4 separate regions of the Homo sapiens genome follow, and all the other regions are linked to region 2. The links are contacts of gene promoters, found by promoter capture Hi-C in human tissues and cell types (Jung and others, 2019). All regions are on one chromosome and are shown on one strand. Each heading gives the region's core, a stretch centred on a gene start or on the middle of the fragment in contact. The rest is flanking DNA. Distances are from core to core; before and after follow the strand shown.

Region 1 (5,976 bases), core at 2,061-4,560, 120 kb after region 2:
TGTGTGTGTGTAAGAGAGAGAGAGAGATGTTGGAGGGGACAAGGTCTTTGAATGCCAAGACCTTGACCTCAAACATTTTCTGAAGGCAAAAGAATGCCCTTGCAGGCTTTAAGTCTTTGATTTTTCAGACATTCTCACCAGGCAAAAGGATATCTGCAGAGACCAGAGCAGAGGTGGGGTAGCCAGTTTGGAAGCTATCAGTAAATTCTCCCTATTTCTGAAATTCCAAACATTAAACCTTAAACTACCAGAAATCACTGTATTTACAGGGACCCATGGAGAGAGGACACTTTGCGAGAGGCTAAGGGTTTGGTTCCAGGCATCAGTCTACCCCTCACTCCACCAGCCTGTGTTTCCTGCTCCTCCGCATGGGCCACATGCTATGGCTGGCTCTTCCCACTCTGTCCCATGGAGACCCGACTGTGGACCTGGTAGGGCCGGTTCTGTAGACCCATTTCACAGTAGAGGAAACTGAGGACTACAGAGTGTTTGGCCAGGTTATTTAGCCCCTGGTGGGTGGCAGTGGTGGACCCTTATAGATTGTGATAACTTCCTAAACCAGGTAGCTTAAAACAGTGGAAATTTATTATCTTACAGTTTCGAAGGCCAGAAGTCTTGAATCCAGCTGTGGGCAGGGTAGATTCCTTCTAGAGGCTCTGAAGGTGGGTCTGTCCCATGCCATCACCCAGCTTCTGGTGCTGCTGGCCAGCCTCGGCATTCCTTGGCTTGTAGATTCATCACTCCAACCTCTGCATCCGTCCTCACATAGCCTTCCGCCTGGATGTGTCTCCTCCCCTTCTCTTCTCTTCTAAGGACGCTTGTCATTTGGTTTGGGCCCGTCCTAATCCAGGTTGATCTCATCCTGAGATCCTTAACTTAATTACATCTGCAAAGACCCCTATCCAAATAAGAGCACTGTCTTAGTCCGCCTGGGCTGCTATCACACATGCCGCAGACTGGGTGTCTAAAAGAACAAAGATTTATTTCTCCCAGTTCTAGAGGCTGCAAGTCCCACATTAAGGTGGCAGCATGGTCAGATTCTGGAGTGGGCCCTTTTCCAGGTTGCAGGCTGCTAGCTTTACACTGTATTATCACAGGGTGAACAGCAGGATCTCCGATGAGCAGAATGAGGCTCAGAGAGGGTGGGCGACTTGCCTATGGTCACACAGCAAACAGCTGGAATTTAAGCCCTGCTCAGGAGTAGCCCCTGAGCTCAAACTCTCTGTGACTCTGTGACTCCCTGGAAGACCCACCCGTTGGAGACCCACTTGTCTCCACTCAGTGCATTAGATTTAGCTTAGCTCTTTGTTTTTTGTTTTTTTCTCTTTTAGCCTCTATCTCCTGGTCAGGTTAATTAAGCTGTTGTTACCAACCCTTCTTGGTCAGTGAGGAAGCAAGTCCAGAGCGGCTGAGGTTTGTGCACAGCCCCACTCAATCTGCAAGAGGGCTAGGCCCAGAGCCCAGTTTTCCTGACTCCTGGTGTAGCTCTCTTTGCTCTGTGTTCCTGAGAAACAGAATTTTTCTGAGGTGCCTTAGATAGCATGAGGTCTTAGCCCTGAATTTACCGAGGAGGTAGTCAAGGCCCAGATGATGAATGGATGCCAGCCACACTCAGGTCTCTGCATCAAGCTGGCCAAGACCCCTGATCCTTGGCCTCTCTTATTTGCAAATCAAAACTTCCAGGCTGCATCCAATATCCTGTATCAACCGCCTGCTTTTGCTTGTATTGAAAAGTCAAACTTCCAAGCTCTATTGAAATCATGAGTTCTCCTTTGAAAGCCAGTTTTAATTTAATTTTGGAGAGTCTCTTCCAATTCCTAAAATGTCTCTGAGCTGAGGTGAGAGCTGTCCCTTGAAACCCAGAAGCGCCATGGATGTCTTTATCTGAAGGGACGCAGCCCCGGGGACGCTACACAGACTGTCTCCCAGCCTAAGCTTTTCACAGCGATGCAGCCAGCTGACAGCCAGGTCCCAGCCCCGCAGAGGCAGTGCCTGCTGTCTCTTCTGAGAAGGCGAATGAGAAGTGAGAGAGACCACAAATTCTAATTAGTGGGATTATCCTCCCACGACATGTCTGGCTTCAGACATGGGTCTCAGAGCCTGGTGCCCGGGCCTCCAGAAGTCTTTGCTTGGATTCCCACAAAGCCAGGACCCCTGAGGTACGTTTGCACGTCATACCTTTGCCTCCTTGCATTTTATATTCTCACGTTCACTACTGGAAATGGGTGTTCTGTGGGCCTTCGACCTCATGCCGTAAATTTTACTCTGTGGAAAAAACATCTTTTTGGAGATTTCATGCAACGTGCTATCTAATACATTGAGATGCAGTTGACATTTATCGTCCCTCAGTGCCGCCTGGCACTCCCACTTCCTGCTCCTGTTTGGTTTCACCCCAGTGGTGCCGGGTGGGTTTTGCTGACTCAGTTCAGAAATATGCGGAGACTGAGGCCAAGAGAGGCACAAAGAACCAAAGCTGGAGTCGGAAATCAGGCTTCTGCCATCGTCCTGTATCTGCCTTGAATAGATTTGCAACGTGTCAGAGCTGAGTGGGGTCAATTTCCAACAGAAGAGAGGCTGTGACACCAGGAGAAAACCCCGAGTTCCTTCGCTGGGTCCTCAAGCCAACAGCGTTATTGCCGGCGTGTCCCATTTCTCAGGAAGGCCACACTGTGGGTGAAAAGTGACAGCTGGGGAGGCAGAGAGCCTGGGTTTGAGTTGAGCCTCGAGAAAGCACTAAAACCTTTCTAGGCCTCACTTTCCTCTCTCTGTGAAGCGGGGATAGTAATAGTCATTGTCCTTGATGGAACGGTGTCCCACCCCTCCAAATTCAACTCCTCCTGGAACCTCAGAATGTGGCCTTCTTTGGAAATGGCGTCATTTTAAGTGTAATTAGTTAAGATGAAGTCATACTAGATGAGAGTGGGCCTAAGTCTACTCTGACTGGTGTCCTTATAAGAAGATGAATGACACAGAGACGTAGGGGAGGATGCCATGTGACAACAGAGCCTAGGACGGAAGAGCTGCAGCTGCAAGCTAAGGGCACCAGGGGTTGCTGGAGCTGCCCAACTCTGGAAGAGGCAGAGGAGGATCCCCCCAGGAGCCTTCAGAGGGGGCAGGACCCTGCTGACACCTTGGTTTTGGACTCCCAGCCCTCAGAACTATGAGCCAATAAATTTCTGTTGTTTAAATCCCCCAGTTTGAGGTACTGTTACAGCAACCTGAGGAACCCACACAATCCCTTATCGAGGTGTTGGGAAGATTAGCCCATACAATCCTTGCTAACCGTCCAAGGAACCAATACAGTCCCTCCTCGGCGTGTTGGGAAGACTAGCTCATACAATCCTTGCTAACTGTCCAAGGAACCAATACAGTCCCTCCTCGGGGTGTTGGGAAGACTAGCTCATACAATCCTTGCTAACTGTCCATGCCACATGTGCATGTCAGCCCTGCTCACTTTTCCTGCTGTGCTTGCTGTGTCTCCTCGGCTCCACGCCCTCCGTTACAGGATTCCCTTTCCCTCAAAGCCTCTTCCTTCACCCTTACCATCTTCCCATCCTTTAGAGCTTGCCCCCTGGTTTTGATCCTGCGGAGAGCCTTCTCTGACAGCTCCCATCCTCCCACCTTGCCCCCAACTGCCCCCAGGTAAGGCAGTCGCTCAGAAGTCCAGGCCTCATGGATTTGAACCCCCACCCTGCCACTTGGTGGTTTGTTGAACTCTGAACAAGTTAATTAGTACACTTGGGGCTACAGCTCCCTCATGCTTTATCCATAAGGTTCTTATAGGGATTCAGTGAGATGGTCAAGGAGATGATTTGCTCAGTGTCTGACCTGCAGTAAAGTGCTCAATACAGGACCACTGTCATCATAGCTGTCCCCAGCTTCTCCTGTGCTCCCCCAGAACCCATGTGCCTGAGTTTGGGTTTCCCCAGAATCAGGCTCCAAGGCAAAGATTTGAGGACAGGGCATGGGAGAGGCAGAAAGAACACAGAGAAGGGTAGGAAGGAAGACAGCCAGGAAAGGGTGTGCTGTGTTAAGCTTGTTACCCCACTGTGGGGCTAGGCAAACTTACAAACTCCGGGAGCCAGTGTAAACACTGGCATCAGCCTCATCCCAGGTGACGGGCAAGGGAGTGGGGGTACTGATACTCCCGTTTCTAACAGTCGTGGATCGAATGTTGCTCTGAGGACATTAATTCCCTGGCTTGGCTGGTCTGCTACATGGGCAGCAAAGTGGGCCCTACTGGCAAAAGAGAGTCCTCAGGGAGAGAAATGCAGGACTGGTGGATGGAAGTCAGGCAGGTAGGTGCAGAAGTGGGAAAGGTGAGGAGATTCAGGTGGGCACAGACGGAGTCTGCGACACTCGTGCACGCCACACATCTCAGGGTTATAGTCACTGGTGCTTTTTGCATTTATCTATTTTCCTCGTGGGCTGTGAGCCCCTTGAGGGCAGGCCTGCTTCTTCCATCTTCTGTGTTTGCATCTCCTCTTTCAACACTTAGTACATGGCCAGTGCTCATGTCAATGTTTAATAAATGGATGAATCTGGTCCAACTCCTCCATTCTGCAGATGCAGAGAGGTTGTGCCTAACTTAGCAGAGCTGCTCCCCTAGCAGATTTCAAGAACAGGGACGTGAATCCAGAAGTAAAAATGCAGTGCGGGGTGACATTTCTCCTTTGTCTCCCTTTTCGATTGTTGGCCTGACTGTTCTCTCCTTTGGCTGTCGCTCAGGTATGCATCGTGCAGAAGCGAGACACTAAGAAAATGTATGCAATGAAGTACATGAACAAGCAGAAGTGCATCGAGAGGGATGAGGTTCGGAATGTTTTCCGGGAGCTGCAGATCATGCAAGGGCTGGAGCACCCCTTCCTGGTCAATCTGTGGTGAGTGTGGCTCCATCCAGGGCTCCTGTGGGTTCCCCTGTGGGGAGCCAAATGCAAATTCGCCTCTGCTAGAGGGACTCTTCCGCATTGTAAAGGGAAAGGGATGCAATTTTCTGGGTTCAGTTATTCTTAAGTATTTTGTAGAGTACATTTTCTGATGAAGTCTATAGGCATATGTTTCATTTTCATTTTAATTCTGTCCTCTTATCTGATGAATCAGAGTTGAAAATAAATGGAGAAGTGTTTTGCGTATTTGAGAAGATACGTGGAACGTTATAAGAGAATGCCGAAGATAGGCTACTAAAGGGAGTGGGGAGCTCAGTGTTTCAGAAAGTCACAGCCATACAGCTGATGGCAGGAAGGGCAACTGGAAACCAGTATTCTACTTCAGTACAGATGGCTGCCCATCACGGACGTACCAAATTCGGAATTCTCTATCCTGCCCCCAAAACCTGCCATCACCCATGTTTCAGAACTTTCACTCCAACCCGTCCTTGGCTATTATCTTCACTTTAAATGTGCATCCTAGAAACACATCCTGTTGGTGGTTCCCTGCCTCTGTGCTTTTGCGTGTGAAATATCTTCCTAAAACACTCACGTCCCCTTCTCCAGTGTCCCCTAACCAACACCTGTGCATTCCTGGCACCCAGCTTAGGAAACCCTTAGGTCAAGAGCCCTTGAAGACCCACAGGCCAGCTGAGTGCCCCTCGCGACCTCAGTCTTCTCCTGTGTTTGACCTAATGCCATCTTTATCACAGTGAACCCAGGTTATTGGGTTACTTATCTGTCCTCACACAGAAATTGCTTGTTTCTGGGTAGTCTAACACAGTATCTGACACATTGGAGGGACTTAGCAAATGTTTCCTAAGCTGGATTGTGTTGAAGGGGAGAGGGAGGACAGGCCGCTTTAGGAAACAAATTCTGACCATTTCATTCAGCGGATCAGTTGACCCACTGACCTTAAGAGTTGGGATGGCCACCCTGGAGGGGTAAGTCTAGCTTTGCACATACTTGACCACCACTGATTTCAGTTGCCCTGCACACTTAGAAGCACTTTGAACATTGGATGATAGGAGAACAAAGAGGAACACAGATT
Region 2 (6,702 bases), core at 2,191-4,690:
ACCAGATGCTGGAAGAAGCATGGAGACTCTGGAGATTGATTTTGACTTCTGGCCTCCAGAATGGTGAGGGAATAATTTTCTGTTTTTTTTTTTTACTTGTTTGTTTTTTGAGACAAAGTCTCACTCTGTTGCCAGGCTGGAGTGCAGTGACGCAATCTTGGCTCACCGCAACCTCCACCTCCCAGGTTCAAGACATTCTCCTGCCTCAGCCTCCTGAGTAGCTGGGATTACAGGCACATACCACCATGCCTGGCTAATTTTTTTTTTTTTTTTTTTTTGAGATGGAGTCTCACTGTTGTTGCCCAGGCTGGAGTGCGATGGCGCGATCTTGGCTCACTGCAACTCTCTGCAGGTTTCAGCAATTCTCCTGCCTCAGCCTCCCGAGTAGCTGAGGTCACAGGTGCCTGCCACCACGCTTGGCTAATATTTGTATTTTTAGTAGAGATGGGGTTTCACCGTGTTGGCTAAGCTGGTCTCGAACTCCTGAGCTTAGGTAATCCACCCACCTTGGCCTCCCAAAGTTCTGGGATTACAGGTGTGAGCCACCGTGCCTGGCCTAATTTTTGTATTTTTAGTAGAGACAGGGTTTCACCATGTTGGCCAGTCTCGAACTCCTGACCTCAAGTGATCCTCCCACCTAGGCCTCCCAAAGTGCTGGGATTATAGGCGTGAAACGCCACACCTGGCCAATTTCTGCATTGAAATCTTAGGTCTTTGCACTTCTCAACCATTTGAGTTGGCTTAGCCTATTTGTGCCCCAGTCTCCTCCAGAGTGGGGATGGTGACACACCTACCTCTCAGGGTTGCTGTGAGGATGAGAAAATCCATGCAGAGCGCTTGAAGTACCAGAGTCAGGCACATTCTCTATGGATGGGGAGCAGAGAAGTGAAGGGGTTGCCGGAGGTCCTAGCACCCTGCAAAGAGTTAGCACAGAGCTGGACATGCAGAGTTCTCAATACACATGCACGCTGTCACTGAACACTGCACTGCAAGACTAATTCCAGCCGTGTGGAACATCTCCCAGCATCTGCAAAGTGTCCCACTCTCTAGGCCTGGAGAACTTTGCACCAGTAGCCTCCTTTCTTCTTCCAACCCGGTTGATTCCTTGCCCTTCCAGTCTCAGCGCCAGCACCCTCTCTGGCCAATGCCTTCTTTTCTTTTGTTTTTTTTTTTTTGAGACGGAGTCTCACTCTGTCACCCAGGTTGGAGTGCAGTGGCACAATCTCAGCTCACTGCAACCTCCGCCTCCCAGGTTCAAGGGATTCTCCCACCTCAGCCTCCCGAGTAGCCGGGATTACAGGTGGGTGACATTTCTGTCATGCGTGTCCGTGTGAAGAGACCACCAAACAGGCTTTGTGTGAGCAATAAAGCTTTTTAATCACCTCAGTGCAGGCGGGCTGAGTCCGAAAAGAGAGTCAGCGAAGAGAGATATGGGTGGGGCAGTTTTATAGGATTTGGGTAGGTTATGGAAAATTAAAGTCAAAGGGGTTCTCTGGGAGGCAGGGGCGAGGGTCACAAGGTGCTCAGTCGGGAGCTTCTGAGCCAGGAGAAGGAATTTCACAAGGTAATGTCATCAGTTAAGGCAGGAACAGGCCATTTTCACTTCTTTTGTGATTCTTCAGTTGCTTCAGGCCATCTGGATGTATATGTGCAGGTCACAGGGGTTATGATGGCTTAGCTTGGGCTCAGAGGCCTGGCAATCACACCCAGCTAAGTTTTGTTTTTTTAGTACAGATGGGGTTTCTCCATATTGGCCAGGCTAGTCTCAAACTCTTGACTTCAGGTGATCCACCCGCCTCAGCCTCCCAAAGTGCTGGGATTACAGGTGTGAGCCCCCACGCCCGGCCTAGCACAATATCAATATATTCCTCATAACAATGTTAGAAAGGGAAAGTTCTCTTATTAGCACCTTCTGGACTCAGATGAAGAAACTGAGTCCAGAACAGGTTAAGTAATTTATCCAAGTTAACTGGCTAATGAGGGGCAAAGCAGAATGAAACCTGGGTAGAATGAGCCCAGAGCCCATGCCTGTCCACATTCCGCCCTATGCTTCTTGAGCTAGGGGCCAGCTCTGTGTTCAGGGCATTGCCTGCTGCACACTGGCTACTCAGTGTATGCTTGTTGGTGGAATGAAAGGCAAGAAATATTTATTCATCATTTATTATATGCCGGGCACTGTTGCCTGCTTTTATAAATATTACCTGATATAATTCTCACAGACAACCCAAGGAGTTAATATCAATCAGCCCACTTTGCAGATAAGAACTCCAAAGTGGGACACATTGCCAGTAAATGGTAGAGCCAGCTCTGGGTCATGGTGGGTGGGCCTGCCTCAGACCTTCTCAGTTCTTTCCCACTGCCTTTAAGAGATTTTTTGTTTTGTTTTGTTTTGTTTTGTTTCTGTATGAGTCTCCCCGGCTTCCCTCACCCTTCTCCCAAGAAAAAGAAAGAAGGGGAGAGAACTGGAGAGAGAGACCAGGTAGGGGACGGGGACTGGGGGACGAGATAGGATGGAGAGAGTCACAAAGAACCCCTGCTTTCTATCAAAGCACGGACAGTGGTTCCAGGCGCCCAGCAGATGGCAGGATGTAGCCAAAGATTCCCTGCAGTCCCGGAGAGCTGGGCCCGCAGGACTGCAAGGCAGGGGGACCTGCCTGTCCCTCAGGGAGCGTCCTGGGAACCCGCGCTCGCCCCACACGTCTTGGGGCGCATCTGCCGCACCCCTTACTTAGGCACCCGCAACTGTGGCGCGTATCTCCCGATCCAGGCTCCCGCCGCAGGAGCCCAGGGACCCTCATGCTAGCCTCGCCCCTAAATCGGACGCCGATGCCGCCCAATTTTGGGGGAATCCCGAGACTCATGCCCAGCCATTCCCAGGGAGAATGGTTTGGGGCAAACTATGGCTGTCTGGGGCCTCAGTTTCCCCATGTACAATGAAGGGGTCAGATTAGTATCTAATCTTAAGGGGTCAGAAAGTAAACAGATACTTTCATTCATTAAACACTGAGAAAAACCTTAAGAGGAACAGCGTCGGTTGGAGAGCCAGCAGACACTCCACTGCCCATCCCAATATGAATGGGCAAATACAGGCTAGCGGGGAGTCCTGGGACTCCCTTCGCAGCCGGGGCCGACTAACCACAGACCTAAGAGCCCCTCTACCTCTAGACCTCCGTCTACTGCGCTCTAAAATATGAACGATGCTTTCTTACTGCTGGGTTGTCGGAGGCGGATGTGGGATGGTGCTAACAAAGCGCGTAGCCGAGGCCTGGCCATAGTGGGTGCTGACAAACCGCTTACTGCCTGCAGGGACCGAGCTCCCGGCCGAGGGAGGAGGGCCGAGCAGGGATTCAGATTCTTCCGGGCCGATCCCTTTCTCAGCTCCTTCCGCCCTGCCGCCGCCCACTGCGTGCTGCCTTCGTCCGTCCCCTCCTCCCCCGCTCCTTCCCCTCCTTCCCCTGCTCCCGCGCCGCCTCGCGTCTCCCGCCCGCTGTAGCCGGCGAGGAGCGCCGCACGTTGGCCCCGGCGCGAGGAGCTCCCGGGTTCCCGGGCGGGCACTGGAGTAAGGAGCTGCGAGCGCAGCCCGAGGCGGGGCACGGCGGAAGGCGCGGCGAGAGCGGGGTCCCTGCGAGCGCAGTCGGAAGGGCGTCCAGGAGAAGGGGGACGCCGTCCCCGCCCCTGCACGGTGCTCGGCCCCCTCGGGCTCCGCGCGCGGCTACAACCCGGACTGGGCGCGCCCCCGGCATCCCGCATCTCTGCGCGCGTCCCACATCCCGCATCCGGCATCCCAGCGGCCGGGCATGTAGCAGCGGCAGCAACGGCGGAATATGGGCGGGAACCACTCCCACAAGCCCCCCGTGTTTGACGAGAATGAGGAAGGTAAGAGAGCGAGAGGTGCGAATTCCCGCTTCGCGGGGCATCCCCTTCCTCCACCACCCTCGGCCGAGCCCTGCGGGGCACCGCATGCTGCCCGGCGCGGGGACCCAGGCATGGCCACTTCGCCCAGCGAATGCAGTGTGTGCCCGACCCGTGCCAGGCGCGGCGCTTCTGCTGAGGCAACTCCTAGGTACCCAGTGCCGTTTAGTAGTCGGGACGGTGCCTAGCGCGGGACTGGGGAGGCGGCTTCAGAGAGTTGAACCCGAAACCTGCACTTGGGGGTGTGGAAGGGAGGAGTTGACTTCGGAGGCCAGTCGGGATGGTTCTAGGCTCGGGCTCCCCAGGAAACCGAGGTTTCCTTGAGAGCCTGAGGCTGACGGAGGTGGCCTGGAAGGGCGGGTTGCACCGTGTGTCTGTGTGTGTGTGCGCGTGCCCACGACGCATTTGGTCTCGTGCAAGGGCCTGTTGGATGCAGCTCTCCTCAATCACCCAGGACAGAGGGAAACTTTTCTTTGCTAAACTCTGTGGTTCCTAGGAGGGCGTCCTGTTCTGGGCAGCCTCCCCCTGGCGCAGAAGTGGTGTAGGCTGTCCAACCGCATCTCAACTTCCTGGCTGGATCCTTGCGGTTCAGGTCGATAGAGCTCCCTATTTGGACTAGCAGAACCCTCTTTCCAGTGCAGCGTGTCCCTGGAAAACTTACTTCACCTCTCTGAAACATTAGTCCCTTCATCAATGAAATGTGAGTTATGATACCACTAGCTACTTTATAGGGTTGTTTGAAGCTTAACCACTAGTAATCCACGTGAAAAGTGCCTTATAAATGCAAGCAGTACCGAGCTGTGCCGTTTTTTATGTTAAGAGCCCTCTGCCTCTCAAAGCTGGTTTCCTACTGTGCTGACTCGCCAGTCTCCACTGTGCCCCAGGTAAGAGCTGAGACATACTGAGCACTTACTATGTTCCAGCCATGCTAGCACATAGTGTTCACTCCATCCTTTTCATGCCCCTTGAGGTGGCTACCTTAGAAAGGGGTCTGTCCTGGTTACTGCTGGTAAGAAGTAGAGCTGGGCTTGAGGCAGGACAGTCTGCTTTGAAAGCTGTGCCTGTCATCATTACCCAGGGCACTGGCTGTGTGCGTACATCATGGATGGCTTCTAGAACTCCCAAGGCTGTGAGTGCTACTCAGATGCCTGCCTGGACAGCCCTTCTCAAAAAGATAGATGAACACAGTCAAGGTTAAGTGAGCACCTGCTGTGTCAGGCCCACGAGAGCCTTCCTTAAAGGAGTTCCTAGTCTAATGGCCCTGAATGACCGTCCATGGTGATAAGGGCATTGAGAAACCAGTGCAGGGTCTTGGGGGCACAGAGAGGCCCCAGCTTTTCCTGATCTTTAGTCTGGAGCATGTGCAGGTGAGCAGGTAAGGAGCCAGTTGTGGACAGAGGAGAGGTGGGCACAGAGGTAATGGAGGCTCTTGCATGTCCCAGTAAGAGTTTGAACACTATGCAGCATCACCCTCAATTGCACGGGCTTGTGGTTCTAGCCTGGGTCAAAGGTCATGCTTTTGCTAATTTTCCTAGCATCTTTCTCTTTTATTTACAGAGGAAATTTGCCACCCTTATATTGAAAACCGTCTCTGTCATTTATCCCCAGCTTGAAAATATTCATTGGCAAAATAGTTATCTCTGGTGTAGCCAACCTTTTGATTTTCCTGTTCCTGTTCCTTATTCTATAAGCAGATTGGGCCTAAGGTTAACTGCCTGTTTCGGTGCTTGTTAAAATACAAGGTTATGAGGCCGGGCGCGGTGGCTCATGCCTGTAATCCCAGTACTTTGGGAGGCCGAGGTGGACGGATCACCTGAGGTCAGGAGAGGCCTGCCTGGCCAACATGATGAAACCCCGACTCTACTAAAAATACAAAAATTAGCCGGGCATGTTGGCGGGAACCTGTAATCCCAGCTACTCAGGAGGCTGAGGCAGGAGAATCGCTTGAACCCGGGAGGCGGAGGTTGCAGTGAGCTGAGATCGCACCATTGCATTCGAGCCTGGGCACCAAGAGTGAAGCTCCATCTCAAAATAAATAAATAAATAAATAAATATAAATAAATATAAGGTTAGGGCTCTCCTCATTTTGCCATTGCCCAGCCCAGTGAAACATTAACTTGTTTGATTTTGCCAGTATGTCTCTCACACGTTTCCTAGTACAGGTAAAACAGTGTTACTTGCCACCAACCGACTCATTTATTTCGTAGGCATTTACTATTTGTATTTTCTGTACCCACCCCTGTGCTGGGGACCGGGAATATGAGGAGGATGAAGGCAAAGTGTTAACAATTTGCTCCCAGAGCAAGTAAACCACCTGGAAAACACAGGGTGTGTAAGTGCCCTGACGTGGGTGAGCTCAGGCGACTGATATCCTGGAGGAGGGTCCCTAACTCAGAGTGGGGGGAGGGATCTGAAAAGGCCTCCTCTTTTAGACTGGCATCTTGCAGAAATGGCAGGAGTTACCTGGGGGGAAGAAGTGGGTGATAGAAGGGGGAAGGACGTTTCAGAGAAAGGGAAGAGTATGTGCAAAGGCAGATGGTAAAGAGTAAGCCTGGCTCATGTGGGGGGATTGAGGGGGCTTAGTACTCCTGCATTGTGGAGTATGAAGCTGAAAGGCACAAAAGATGAACCCTGAATGCCTGGCCGGCCTTAAAGGGCCCAGTGGCCGTGGTCAGGTGTTTGGACTTGATCTTATAGGCATTTTGGAGTCACTGAAGGGTTTTAAGCAGGGAGTGACATGGTCCAGTGAACAAGCTCTCCCAAACCATAGTCATTGCGTGGTTGAAGGTT
Region 3 (6,733 bases), core at 167-2,666, 85 kb before region 2:
CCGCAACATATTCCCTCCTACCCCTTCCCAATTGATCCCTGCCCCCACATCTGTAAAGGTAACCTCTGTTTCTTCAACTATAGATTAGATTAGCTTGTTTTAGATCTTTATATAAATGGAATCACCTAATATGTACTCTTGTGTAAGGCTTCTTTCACTCACATCATATTTTGGAGATTATCTGTGTTTGTGGGTGTATTGGCAGTTCATTTTTTTTCCAGAGTAGTATATCATTGTTTAAATACCACGGCTTGTTTACCTGCTTTCCTATGAATGGACTGTTTCCAGTTTGGGCTGTCATGAATAAAGCTGCTATAAACATTCATGAGCATATGTTTTCATTTTTATTATTTCATCTTTAAGTTATGATGTTAACTGGGAAACAGCAGGGCCTTGAGAATTGGAAATGGACACATGGGCAGATTCCAGTGACAATGAAAACTTTGAACTTCTAGACTTTGCCAAGCCTCCTTTGCCAGCAGAAGCAGCACTCCTCCCCTGTCTGAGGAGGTTCACCTCCTGTTGCTTGCAACTCTAGTGAGATTCACTGAGGTTGTTGCTGATGGGGGGACTGCCAACCCTCCTCAAGACCTCCTGCAAAAACACTTCATTACACCTAAGCCAATAACAACCCTCAAATTCTGGCATTATCCAGTGGGCTGGGGCAAAGTGTGACCAGGGAGAAAGAATCACACATAACAAGACAAAGTCCAGGATGCTTTCAATGTATGTAAGAGACTCAAAACACATCACATTATTTTTTCACATTAAGGAATCAGTATAAATTTGGTATTAAGATAATTTGATATTTTAGAGTGGTAGTCTTTTGACTCCAATTAAATATACAGTTCAATAATTGATTTATATTTGTGATTTTAAGCGGAAATCTTACTAAGCTTATATATATAATATAAAATATATATCTTATATAGATATAAGATATAGATCTTATATCTGTAAGATGTAGATCTCATATCCTGTAGATGTCATATCTATGATATAAGATATAGATCTCCTATCTTATATATCGTATATCTATATCTCATATATATATACTTCATTATTTATGTAAGTTTATCTGATGTATAAGAATTACTTCAGTATTGGGAAGAGTTGTCAGATCATTGAGATATTTAAAATCAAATTGAGTGTAAGCAATTTATAAATGTAATTTAAAGTTTTGAAGATGTTTAATTATTTGATTTGGTTAGTGGGATCCAGCATTATTTTTGGATCCTTTATAAGTGATTATTTGCTGGGCATAGAACCAGCTTTTAAAACACTAATAGAAAGTGATAGTGGCTCATCAAAATCCGTGTCTTTTGCTCCTTGGTGGACACTATGTTTCCCCATCTCGTGGCAGTGAAAGTAGCCAAGTAACTAAGTTCTAGCCAAATGGAATTGAGCAGAAGTGATGTGTGCCATTTTCCTTCTTGGCTGACGAAAACCTCTCACGGGCCTTCCTCCCTCCTATTGTCTGGAATGGAGATGATGAAGGCAACTTTGCAAGCAACTAGTTGGAGGGGGCAAAGCCTTGGTCAGCTTGGGTCCCTGAGTGGCTTCATCAAATAAGGGATATTCCCACATCCATTTTTCACTTGTGCTATTCTGTCACCACTGTGGCTGTTACATAAGCAAGAAATACACTTCTATTGTGTTGGGCTACTCCATGTTTAAGACTATTGGTTACCTAGCCTTCCCTGATGAATACATTAACAGAATACCAAAGCCTAAGAGACAATTAGGTGTTGGTGAGCCAGGCACTGTGGCACATGCCTATAGACTGAGGCAGAAGGATCCCTTGAACCCAGGAGTTCAAGGCTGTAGTGTACTATGAATGCACCTGTGAATAGCCACTGCACTCCAGTCTGGGCAATACAGCAGAACCGTATCTGCCTAAAAAAAAGATTGGGTGTTAAGAGTTTGTAACTTTGTAAAAAGCAAAGCAAACTTCTGCCCAGACTTTTCTTGGCACAAGAATTACCTTTTGCAAAGCTTCACATTGGTGGTGATTTTTCACTTGGGGGCTCATACCTAACAGAGCTGTTGGGGACCGTCACTTTTTCCTTCTTCTCTAGTCTCACTTCTGATTTTCTCCCATGACAGATCTAAACCCTGCTGTAAGGGAGTTCACAGATCAAGAATAACGTTGAGGAGAATGTTAAAATAAAATATCTTTCAATTTTTAAAGGTAATATGCACTCAAAACATTTGGAAAACATAGAAAAGTCAGAAAAGTATCATAGAAAGTCAACCACTGACAATATTCTAGTACTCAGTATTTCAAGTTATTTTTTGTTTTACATAGTGATATCATATTATATACAAAAGATTATTCTTTTTTTTTTCTTTTTTATTTCTTTTCTTGAGACAGGGTCTCACTCTGTTGCCCAGACTGGAGTGCAGTGGCACAATCTCGGCTTATAGCAACTTCCGACTCCTAGGCTCAAGTGATTCTCCTGCCTCAGCCTCCTGAGTAGTTGGGATTATAGGTGCATACCACTACCACCCACTTAATTTTTGTATTTTTAGTAAAGATGGGTTTTCACCATGTTGGCTAGGCTAGTCTTGAACTCCTGACCTCAAATGATCCACCTGCCTCAGCCTCCCAAAGTGCTGGGATTACAGGCATGAGCCACCATGCCTGGCCCAAAAGGTTATTCTTATGTTGCGATTTAAGGAGTTTAAAGTCTGGAAACAAGTTGGAAATAGATTCAGGAGTCAGAGAGATCTTAGCTTCATTGCTGGAGGGGAGAATTCAGCTTGACTCTGCCACCATACCCAGGCCTGCTGAGGCCTGCTGTAGGACCCTCTATGGGGAGATTTTACCTATAGCAGGACATTCACCTGGCCAACTGCAAGGCGAATCACCAGGTCACATACCTTGGAGCCTTCAGAAGTGAAAGAGAGATGGAAGATACAGGAAAGTAGTTTTTAACATATTAACATACCCACTTGAGAAAAGTAGATGATTGCATGGCAGCCTCTCACTGCATAAAAAGTCTGCCTCTGCTGTTATTTTTTTATTTTTTCATGTTTGACTGATGATGCCTTTTCAGTCTCACCCACCCTTTCCTTATCTGAGCAAACTGATAAAAAAAAAAACTGGATTCTCTCTCCATTGGCATCAGTGGGAGATTCAACCAGGTAAGCCCTTGCCCACAGTGTGCAGGAATTTTCACCCAGCCCAGCCCCCTAGCCATGATAAAATCCCCAAGCTAGTCTCCTTTTTCCAATTTCTCAAGCCATTTTTGGACCTGTTGGAGAGGCCTATCCGGCTCTCCCCAGAGACAGTCATGATGTCAGTAATAAACCTTTTGATTCCCTTGGGGCATGCATGTGACATCATCAGCCTTAACCTTTGACTATCTTGGCTGGGAACCCATGTGCCTCTGCAGATGACCCTACAAGTGCCATCTCATCTATCAGATAAATCATTTCTGTGTATGTCTGTATGCATGCACATATATTTATTTTGCTAACTGACACTACCCTCAGCAATGCTGTGTGTAAAGACATCTCTGGACCTGGAGTTATCCTGTTCCCTTGGGATAACACATTAGAACGGGGAGAATATAGGGGAAAGGCTGTGCTCATTTTAAGTTTCCTGAGATGTATCGGCGAATAGCTTTTCAAAATGTTGAGCCACATCCCAAGGGAGCCAGACAGTGTGGCAATCATGAGTGTGCTGTGAAGACCTCCAAGAGAGGGAGCTATGGACCAAGGGCCCCAGCAGCTGCTCTCTGAGGGTCTGGGAGAAACTGAAGTTCCCTGACAGTGACTTTGGTTTGAAGACACGACAGTGGCTTTGCTCAACCCTCTCTAGGCTGCACCTCTAGGGCACTTCCACCAACCTCCCTTCCCTCTCTCCTTCATGGGGGCACCTGGCCATGTAGTTCCCCAGCCTTCCCTGTGTCCTCTTGCAGGTATTTCCCCTAACAAAAGAGGAAGGTGTTTCCGCTTTGCACATTTCATCCCACCTCAGTATCTGCTTCTTAGAGTATCCGGACTGACACATAGGGAGGAGTGGGCAGAATAGCAGCTCAGAATCTGAACTCCTGAGTCCCAGGCCCAGCTCTGCTCCTCCCTAGCTGTGGGAACATGGCCAATTGACCTTCCCTCTGAGTTCTTCTCAGTTCCTGCCTCTAAAGGATAGGGATTCATGATACACATTTGACAATGTCACTGTGAAAACAGTGAAACTCTGAATGTGCAATGCACACATGGCCACCTTTTCGTTCCTTTCACATTTCATAGAAAATCTGGCCTGTTTAAACATGTACAAAAGTATACATGGCACAGAGGCACCCATGTGCCCAAGATTGAGTGTGAACCTGAGCTGTCATTGCAGGCACCTCCTGATGGGAAACTGTAGAATGTCGCTTTCCAAGTGTCAACCTTGGCCCATGCTTTAGTGACTCATGGGAACTCAGGCCAGACCCCGCCCTGGGCGCCTCATCTGCGTGAGTCAGGAACACAGATCTTAGCCCATGGCCTTTGGCTCATATCTGGACAGCTGACCTAGGGTGGGGTTTCTAGGAGAGATTGTTTGGAAGACAAGTCCACATGGCGAGAAGATTCGGCAAGTCCCTGACATCTGAACGAGCACCGCCAGGCTAACAGAATTTGTACTGGAGGTAGGGCAGGGACCTATCCTGAAGAATTATTCCAATGACTCTAAATCTCAGGCTGGGAGGCTTTTAGCAAGTCACTCTGAAGCTCGAGTTTTAAGTCTGTGGCCAGAGACTTATTCACTGCTGCTTGTTCTCCATTGGTCATCTTTTTATATTTAAGACATCCTGGGTTTGACCTCCAGCTTAAGAGAGAAAAGTCATGAATGAAGAAAGTCCTTAGGGCACTTGATTTTCCTCTTCATATTTGGTAAATATTGGGGATAAGAGATAATTAGTATAATAATGCTCATAGTCAGAAGGCAGTAGCATTTGCTGGGATTACGATGAACCAGAGCTCTCAGCCCATTCAATTCTCACCAGTCTTGTGAGGCAGATGCTCCATTGCCCTCATATTACAGATGAGGAAACTGAGGCTTAGAGAGGGGAAGCAAACAGACCCAAGTGTCAAGGTGAACTTTCATGAATCCCTGTAACTGGACCTTGAGGTGCTTCTTGGTTTCCTTCCCTGGGGCTTTAGGCTTCCTGCTGGGACTGAGGGTGGCTGTGAAATGTTCCAGAGAGAAATCTTGGATCCTACTGAGGATAAGCCTTTCTTTTATTTTGCTCTTGATTTAAAATGTTCAAACACAAAAACAATTACTGAGGGCAACATAACAAAGACCCATGCTCCACAACCAGGATTTCTTAATGTTAATATTTTCTCCTATTTGCTCAAATTTTTATTTTCAAAAGAAATTAAGCACTGCAGACATAGCTGGAGTCCCATCTCTGCCCTCCTCTGGGCCCAGTCTCTCTGTAGTATCTCAGAGACAACTATTTTCTGAATATGAGGGTGACTTTCCTATGCAGGTTCTCATGTTTTTACATGTATGCATATGTTCATAAAGAATACTGCATATAATGCTGTTTTCTGGGCTTCAAATTTTACAGATGTTTCTTACAGGACATATTTTTGCACAGCTTATCTTTTTTCCTACTTGATCTTCTTCTCACTCTCTAACCTTGCTGATCCAAACAGATCTGGCTAGTGTATTTTAACTATTATATGGCAATCAGTCATATAACTATACTACCACTGATCTTTCAATTTCCATATTGATTGGTGTATATGTTGCTGTCAATTCTTTGACATTATAAACAGCACTGAAAGGAACATCCTTATTTGCATTTTCTTGTGCAAAAGTTCTTCTAGCATATAGACCAAGGACTGTACCTGTTGAGTCATAGAGAATACACATTTTCCTTTCTCCATCTCTCCCTCTCCTGTTGTTTCTTCTTTCATTAGTGCACAGAACTAAACTATTTATCATTCTTGATTCAACAAACTCTCATTAGTGGTCTATGCATGGCTCACTTGTTTGTTTGTTCTTTCTATCTATCTATCTATCTATCTATCTATCTATCTATCTATCTACCTACCTATCTCTCTCTCTCATCTCTCTATCTTTCTATGTATGTATCTATCCATCTACGTCCAAATGTATCCCCCAAATTTTATATGTTGAAACTTAATCTCAGCGTGATAGTAGTAAGAGGTGAGACAGTTAGGGGGTGATTAAGTCACGTGGGTGAAAGCTTTATGGGTGGAATTAAGGCTTTGTTAATATGGGAATAAACAAACTCAGTTTCTCTTAATAAATTCTCACAGCATGTTTCTGTCATCAGATATGTGGGGATTTTCCTTCCACACATCAAAAAAGCAGTCAGTTCTGTAGTGGACACCAGCAAGGTGTCCTGTAATTCAGTTCAATTCTGACATAGTCTACCTGGAAACAGTGTCAGGTCCCACAGGTTGAGGGCTCAGTCCCACAAAGCTGCCCCCCAACTTCAGATGCCAATCACAAGCTCCAGATTGTCTTATCTGTGCTTCTGACCCACTGGCTATAAATTGGGATTCCCAAGACCCTGTCTTTGGGTTGGATTAATTTGCTAGAGTGGCTCAAATATCTCAGGGAGATACCTACTTACATTTACTGGTTTGCTATAAAGGATATTACAAAGGATACACGTGAAGAGATGCATAGGCTGAGATACGGGGAAAGGGGCCCAGAGCTTCCATGCCCTGTCCAGGCGCATCACCCTCCAGGAACCTCTATGTG
Region 4 (6,361 bases), core at 3,370-5,869, 73 kb after region 2:
TCCCTTTGTCCAGTGGATCCACGCTATAGACACTGCGCCAATGACACTGGTAATCATTGACGTAATCTGCTCCTGACATCTGGCCATCGACATCGTCATGGCTTGATGATCCAGGATCACCTGAATCAGATTGATTGATACAGCAGAAGGCAATAGTAGCCTAGCGCTCTGTCACAGTGCCTACGTCATTCACTTCCCTTCATCTCATCACGTAGGCATTTTATCATCTCATATTGTCACAAGAAGGGAAAGGGGGAGTGCATCACAAGAAGAGATTTTGAAAGAGGGAGAAAGCATTCACATAACGTTTATTACTGTATACTGTTATAATTTTTCCATATTTAGTTATTGTTAATTTCTTACTGTGCTTAACTTATAAATTAAACTTTTTCATAGGGAGGTATGTTATAGGAAAAAAACAGTATATATAGGATTCAGTAGTATCCAAAGTTTCAGGCATCCAGTGGGAATCTTGGAATGTATCTCCCTTGGATAAGGTGGAAATACTGTACAAAATACTTGTGGAGTGAATGTAATGTTTAGAGATGATATGTGTAGTCATGAGAATTTTTGAGATTTCCTGTGTTAGTGACAAATTACAACTAAAAGCCTGATGACCGATTGAAAAGGTATCTGATGCCAAGCTTTTTTCTAAGCACTTTACATATGTGTATGAAATATATAGAGAAAATACATATAGAAAAATATACATAATTTCTATATATTATAAAATAATATAACACTTCATTTAAGAAATTATATTATAAAATTATAATATATTTTCGTTTAAGAATATTTGGTTTTATTTCTTCTTTTTGTTTCAATAGTTTTTGGGGTACAGGTGGATTTTGGTTACATGGATAAGTTCTTTAGTGGTGATTTCTGAGATTTTAGTGCACCCATCACCCCAGCAGTGTACATTCAATCTAGTCATTTACCCAATATCTAGTCTTTTATCCCTCCCCACTTCCAACCTCCTCAAAGTCCATTATATCACTCTTAGGACTTTGCATCCTCAGAGCTTAGCTCCCATTTATAGGTGAGAACAAATGATATTTGGTTTTCCATTCTTGAATTACTTCAAATAATGGCCTCCAGCTCCATCCAAGTTGCTGCAAAATCCATTTTGTTCCTTTCTATGGCTGAGTAGTATTACATGGTGTATATATACCACATTTTCTTTATTCACTCCTTGGTCAATGGGCATTTAGGTTGGTTCCATTTCCTTGCAATGGCAAATTGTAAGCACTTTACATGTATTAAAAGAATTTGGTCCCACAACGACCCTGTTATATAGCTGTTGTTATGATTCTTCTATTAAGGATTAGGGAACAGATCATAAAACTAGTGAAAGAGGAAAAGCTGGCTCCAATTCTGTCTGTGCAATCAGGTCATTATAATAATATTAATGAGAATAGGACCTATCAGCAGTAATCACAATTATGATAGCAATAACACCAAGGGCAAAGGATAACAGCAGGCATAATTTGTTGAGCAGGTTTGATCCACCAGGTAGTGTACTGGACTGGGTGTTAATGACTTCTGAAGGTAAGAGATATTATTGTTTCCACTTCACAGAAATGGAAACAAAGCCTCAGGTCCTAGTGGGTGGAAGGGATGAGGCTGGAGTGGGACCTGCCTGGCACCAAAGTCTGTATTCAGTCTTGCTGTGACAGCTAAGGAGACTGCTGTCCCCAGGGACAGGCCAGGGACAATCATCCTGTTCAGGAGACTTGTCCTGGGCACCACTTGGCTGCCAGCCACAAGTGAGGGGCCAGAAAAGTTGAGGAGAACACAGCCCAGGCCTGTCCATGCAGATCTCACTGTCAGTGGGAAATGGGACAGAAGGGATCAACCTCCATAGAACCATGCAAGAGTGATTGTGTGTTCACAGTGTCCACCCATTCACTCACTCATTCATTCACTCGCTCATTCATTCACTAATTCACATACTCATTCTCTCACTCATTTACTCACTCATTCACTTACTCACCCATTCATTCACTGTTTCACTCACACACTCATTCACTCCTTCATTCACTTATTCACTTCTTCACTCCTTCACTCACTCATTCACTCATTCTTTTACTCATTCACTCGCTTATTCACTCATTCACTCACATTTACTCATTTACTCATTCATTCATTCATTCACTCACCCATTCACTCACCCATTCATGCATTACCTCATTAATTCAGTCACCCATTCACTCATTCATTCACTGATTCATGCACTTGTTCACTCATTCACTCATTCATTCACTCACTCATTCATTCACTCACTCACTCATTCATTCACTCATTAACCTACTTCACTCATTCACTCACTTATCCATTCAGTTGTTAACTCCTTCACTCATTCATTCACACACATTCACTCATTTACTCATTCATTCACTTGCTCCTTCGTTCACTCATTCTTTTACTCACTCATTCACTCACTCACTTGCTCATTCACTCACTCATTCACCCACCCACTCACTCACTTATTCATTCCCTGACTCATTCACTCACTCACTCATTTACTCATTCATTCATTCACTCATTCATTTACTCATTCACTCATTTACTCACTCAGCTGTTCCTTTGCCAACGCTTGGAGGACTTACTGTGTGCAGGTCCTGGCTCTCATTGAGGTTGCTGGGCTGACTGCATCTGGCGTTGGCCTTGCTGGACCACTCCCTTGCTGCACTCTCCTGCCTGGGTTCCATGATACTCTCCCTGGTTCTCTCCCAGCTCTCTGTGCACCCCTTCTCTGCCTGAGTCCCTTCTCCACCTACTTCAGCTGTTGGTGCTCTTCCACCCTCAGCCCCTGCCTTGACTCTCTATTTGCTCCACCTGCACCAGCTCATGCATTTCCTCCTGTGGCTGTGGAGCCCAAATCCCAGCTCCCTTTCTCATTTCTCACTGCTGGGTCCCCTTCTTTATCACCACAGCTGCCTCAAACTCAACAGGACCCAAGCCAACTTCCCCACCTCCCCACAGAGTGGTTCTTCTTTCTCCTGTGGGCTCTGCTCCCTGAGGCCTTGCTGTCCATGTGTCACTCATGCCCCAAGCTGTAGAGACAGAAGGTGTTGCTCCACACTTCTCTGGCTGTGTCCCGTGGTCTTGCTGGTCAGTTTCCCATGTGTCTCTCAAGTTTCCCCCATTTCTTCACTGCCTGGATCCTACATGCCTCCCGGCTGCTATCTCTGCACCCGGCTTCATCTTCCTTGGAGCCTCATGCAGCCGGCACAAATGAGGATTGAAGGAGTTTTTGTCCATAACCCGGGGTCCTGATGACACCCAGCCCCGTGCTTTTCCAATCACAATGCTAGCATCATTGTTATCATATTTGCTTGTTGGGGCTGCTGTAACAAAGTGTCACAGCCTGGGGGGCTTCAACAACAAACATTTATTTCTTGTAGTTCTGGAGGCAACAAGTCTGAGATCAAGGTGTGGGCAGGGTTGATTTCTTCCAAGGCCTCTCTCCTTGGCTTTATACGGCCACCTTCCCTCTGTGTCCTCCACGTGGCCACCCTGGGTGCATCTGTGTTCTTATCACCTCTTTTTACAAGGACTCCAGTCATATTGGATTAGGGCCCCACCTTTTTGACCCATTTAACCTTAATTACCTCCTTAAAGACCACATAAGCAAATCCAGTCACATTCTGAGGTACTGGGGGTTAGGATTCAGCACATGAGTTTTGGGGGGATACAATTTGATCCATGACAACTATGATTACCACCACCACCACCACCATCATCAATCTCCTCATCCTCATGTCATTTCACCTTTTCACCATCCTCCCTCCTGCCTTTTATTGATCACTTAGTATGTGTGGGGCTCTGATCAAAGCCTGTTAGCCTTCTCATGTGTGATCTCATTTACTTTTCACAACACACCTGTGACCTCTGTTTTATTAGAGCAGAGGAGAAGAGAGGTAAGGTAAATTCTCATATCATCTATTCAAAAAGTAGGTCTCTCATGCCCTGGTTTTGCCAAAATGTCAGCATCCTCCCAGTTTGTTGGCCAGGGGAACTATCACAAACCCCATCAGCTTGTTGAGTTCACTCCCTCAAATTACATAATTTTGCTCTCTCACAGAGAAAAAGTCCCGAAATCTCCGGCTGTTCTAAGTTCATCAGATGTCCGAGTGAGCAAAAGGTTTCACTGGGTTGCTGAGAGCTATGTGCTTTCTGCTCTTCTCTGTAAAACCATCGGCATTTTCTTAGTTCTGCAGCCTCCCTGACTCTCTTAGAGGTGGGTGGACATTCCCTTCTTGGCCCCCAGCCCATTGCCTCCTGAGAGTCCCTCTCTTCTCCCACATCTCATGCAGTGTTTCCTAACCCACCAGAAAGTGAGGGCTTGGGTGGCCAGGACTGAGTTTGGTTTGTTCCTGGCTCAGGGCCTGGAATAGAGCCACATCCTCATGGAAGGTCAGAAAGGAAATACAAAAAAACAGAAGATCTTAACTCTACAGGGACACTACAGGTCATAGATATAAAGGGTCTCAATGAGGCTTCCCATTTTATTATTCCAGTTTGTGTTAGGCTACTAAGGGAACAAGACTGTGTGTATGTGTGCACACATGTGTACATGTCTGTGTGCATGCACCTGTATGCATGTGTGTATGTGTGAGCATGCATATAGATGCACGTGTGTGTTTTAGGGGACATCCTTACTCTTTGGTTGTTCATAACAAAGAATTCGTCACCTACTGGGTCCTGTAGGAGGCAGAATGTTAAGATGGCCCGTCATGAACCTTCCCCTCCAATCTTACTCCTGGGTTATGTTCCATTACATTGTGAAGAGGATATTATGCAAGTGGACCTAATCTAATGACAGGAACTCTCTCAAAGCAGACAGAATTCTTCAACTATTAGCAGAAAGGAAAGTAAGGTAGATTTGAAGCGGAAGAGGGATTTGTTGCAGTATACTAGACAAGCCTCTAGGTGCTGAGAAGACTCCCAGCTCACAACCAGCAAAGACACAGGGACCTTAGTCCTACAGCTGCAGGGAACGGAATCCTGCTAATTATCTTAATGATCTGGGAAGCAGATTCTTCCCCAGATGTCCAACAAGAGCAGCTTGGTCAACACCTTGATGTTGGTCTTCTGATACCTTAAACAGAGAACCCTGTTGATCCTGCTCAGGTTTCTGACCTACAGAACAGTGAGTTAGTAAATGCGTGTTGCTGAGAGCTGCTGAATTTTTGATCATTTATTTTGTAGCATAGAAAACTAATACAAAGCTTTCCTATGTGTGGCCTCGGGCTAGGAACTGAGAATGTAGAAATTAATGCAATAGGTCCCTCCAGCCCCCCTCCCTGAGCAGCTTATGGTTAGAGACAGGAATCAAGGGATTCAGGCAGAGTCATGGGGGCAGCTGCAGCAGCACCTGGTGTGGGTGGGCGTGGTGGACCAGAGCAGCCTTACTTGGCCTGAGGCCAGCGATGCAGGGAGATGCCCAGCAGGCTGAGCCTGCTGCTGCACCCACTGTTGGCTTTTGGAAGCTACTGGGCCAAATGCATATGTCTGGGCTCCAGGGTCATCTGGGACACGTCTCCCTGGTTTTCCTCTCTACTCTCATCCCCGCACCTCTGTTCTCTCACTTTCTATCTGCTTCTGCTTTCATCAAGAGGTCTGCTTCCTCCTTCACAGTGAAAATAGCTACTCCCCAACTCCTTGCTTCAAACCCAGTGACTTCACTGCATTTGTAACTCTGCCTCCTGTGGACCTCCCTCTCCCACAGACCCCCACGAAGGGGCTGCCTCTTATTCCCATCTAGGAGAATTGTTCAGTGATCTGCCCCCATCAGATCTACCGGAGGCCCTTGCCTCAACCTAGGTTGAGCTTCACTTTGGCCTGTGATTGTCCAGTTGCCCTGGCACCATTTGTTGAGAAGCCATCCTCCCTCCACTGAATTGCTTCTACACCTCGGTCAAAAGCCAGTTGGGCACATCATGTGGGTCTGGGTTCTCCATTATGTTCCATTCCTCCATATGTCTGTTTGTCTTCTCATACCACCCAGTCTTGAGTACTGGAGCTACAGAGAAGGCCTTACTATTGGATAGAGTGGGTCCTCCACTTCTTTGTTAAAATTGTTTTAGTTCTCCTGTAGCTAAAATTCCCAGCTCCTCTTAGGATAGTCCTTGTGCCCTTTATCTCCATCCCTTCTTGTCATTTTTCTTCTCTCCCTCCATCCCTCCCTTGTTCTCTCCACCTCCTTGTCGGTAATACTACTTAGCAGCCACTCCGGCAAGCCTTCAGGCCCCCACTGCCCTGCAGGCCAGCCCTGCTGAGCGTGGCTGGGCTCGCTCACTTATCTGGGAGTTGGCTGGTTGTCAGATAGTCTAGGGTGTCTTCGCCAGGACAGCTG

Evidence for each region. The method cuts DNA at HindIII sites, captures the fragments that hold promoters and counts their contacts. A contact is called where the count stands out against the background at its distance.
Region 1: a fragment that was not itself captured here is called in contact with the fragment with the promoter of STK32B in region 2 in 3 of the 25 tissues and cell types used here (H1 embryonic stem cells, aorta and heart right ventricle).
Region 3: a contact is called between a fragment that was not itself captured here and the fragment with the promoter of STK32B in region 2, in 2 of the 25 tissues and cell types used here (aorta and bladder).
Region 4: a fragment that was not itself captured here is called in contact with the fragment with the promoter of STK32B in region 2 in 3 of the 25 tissues and cell types used here (H1 embryonic stem cells, IMR-90 fibroblasts and mesendoderm cells).

Annotation. Positions count from the first base shown.
Region 1 is chr4:5,163,571-5,169,546 of GRCh38, forward strand. STK32B (serine/threonine kinase 32B) reads left to right here. Exons shown (of 12, transcript NM_018401.3): 3 at 4,729-4,880. Among named protein-coding and RNA genes, the nearest start is that of STK32B, 120 kb to the left of the region's middle. RefSeq lists an enhancer at 1,776-2,975. The HindIII fragment of the contact is 6,524 bases long and covers 49-5,976 here.
Region 2 is chr4:5,048,040-5,054,741 of GRCh38, forward strand. It overlaps STK32B (serine/threonine kinase 32B), which reads left to right and starts at 3,441. Exons shown (of 12, transcript NM_018401.3): 1 at 3,441-3,876. The coding sequence starts at 3,825. RefSeq lists an enhancer at 4,143-4,681. The HindIII fragment of the contact is 7,679 bases long and covers 1-6,702 here.
Region 3 is chr4:4,965,046-4,971,778 of GRCh38, forward strand. All of the region lies in intron 2 of LOC101928306 (a long non-coding RNA gene), which reads left to right. Among named protein-coding and RNA genes, the nearest start is that of CYTL1, 51 kb to the right of the region's middle. The HindIII fragment of the contact is 5,372 bases long and covers 1-4,102 here.
Region 4 is chr4:5,120,123-5,126,483 of GRCh38, forward strand. The region is part of intron 1 of STK32B (serine/threonine kinase 32B); the gene reads left to right. Among named protein-coding and RNA genes, the nearest start is that of STK32B, 72 kb to the left of the region's middle. The HindIII fragment of the contact is 9,200 bases long and covers 20-6,361 here.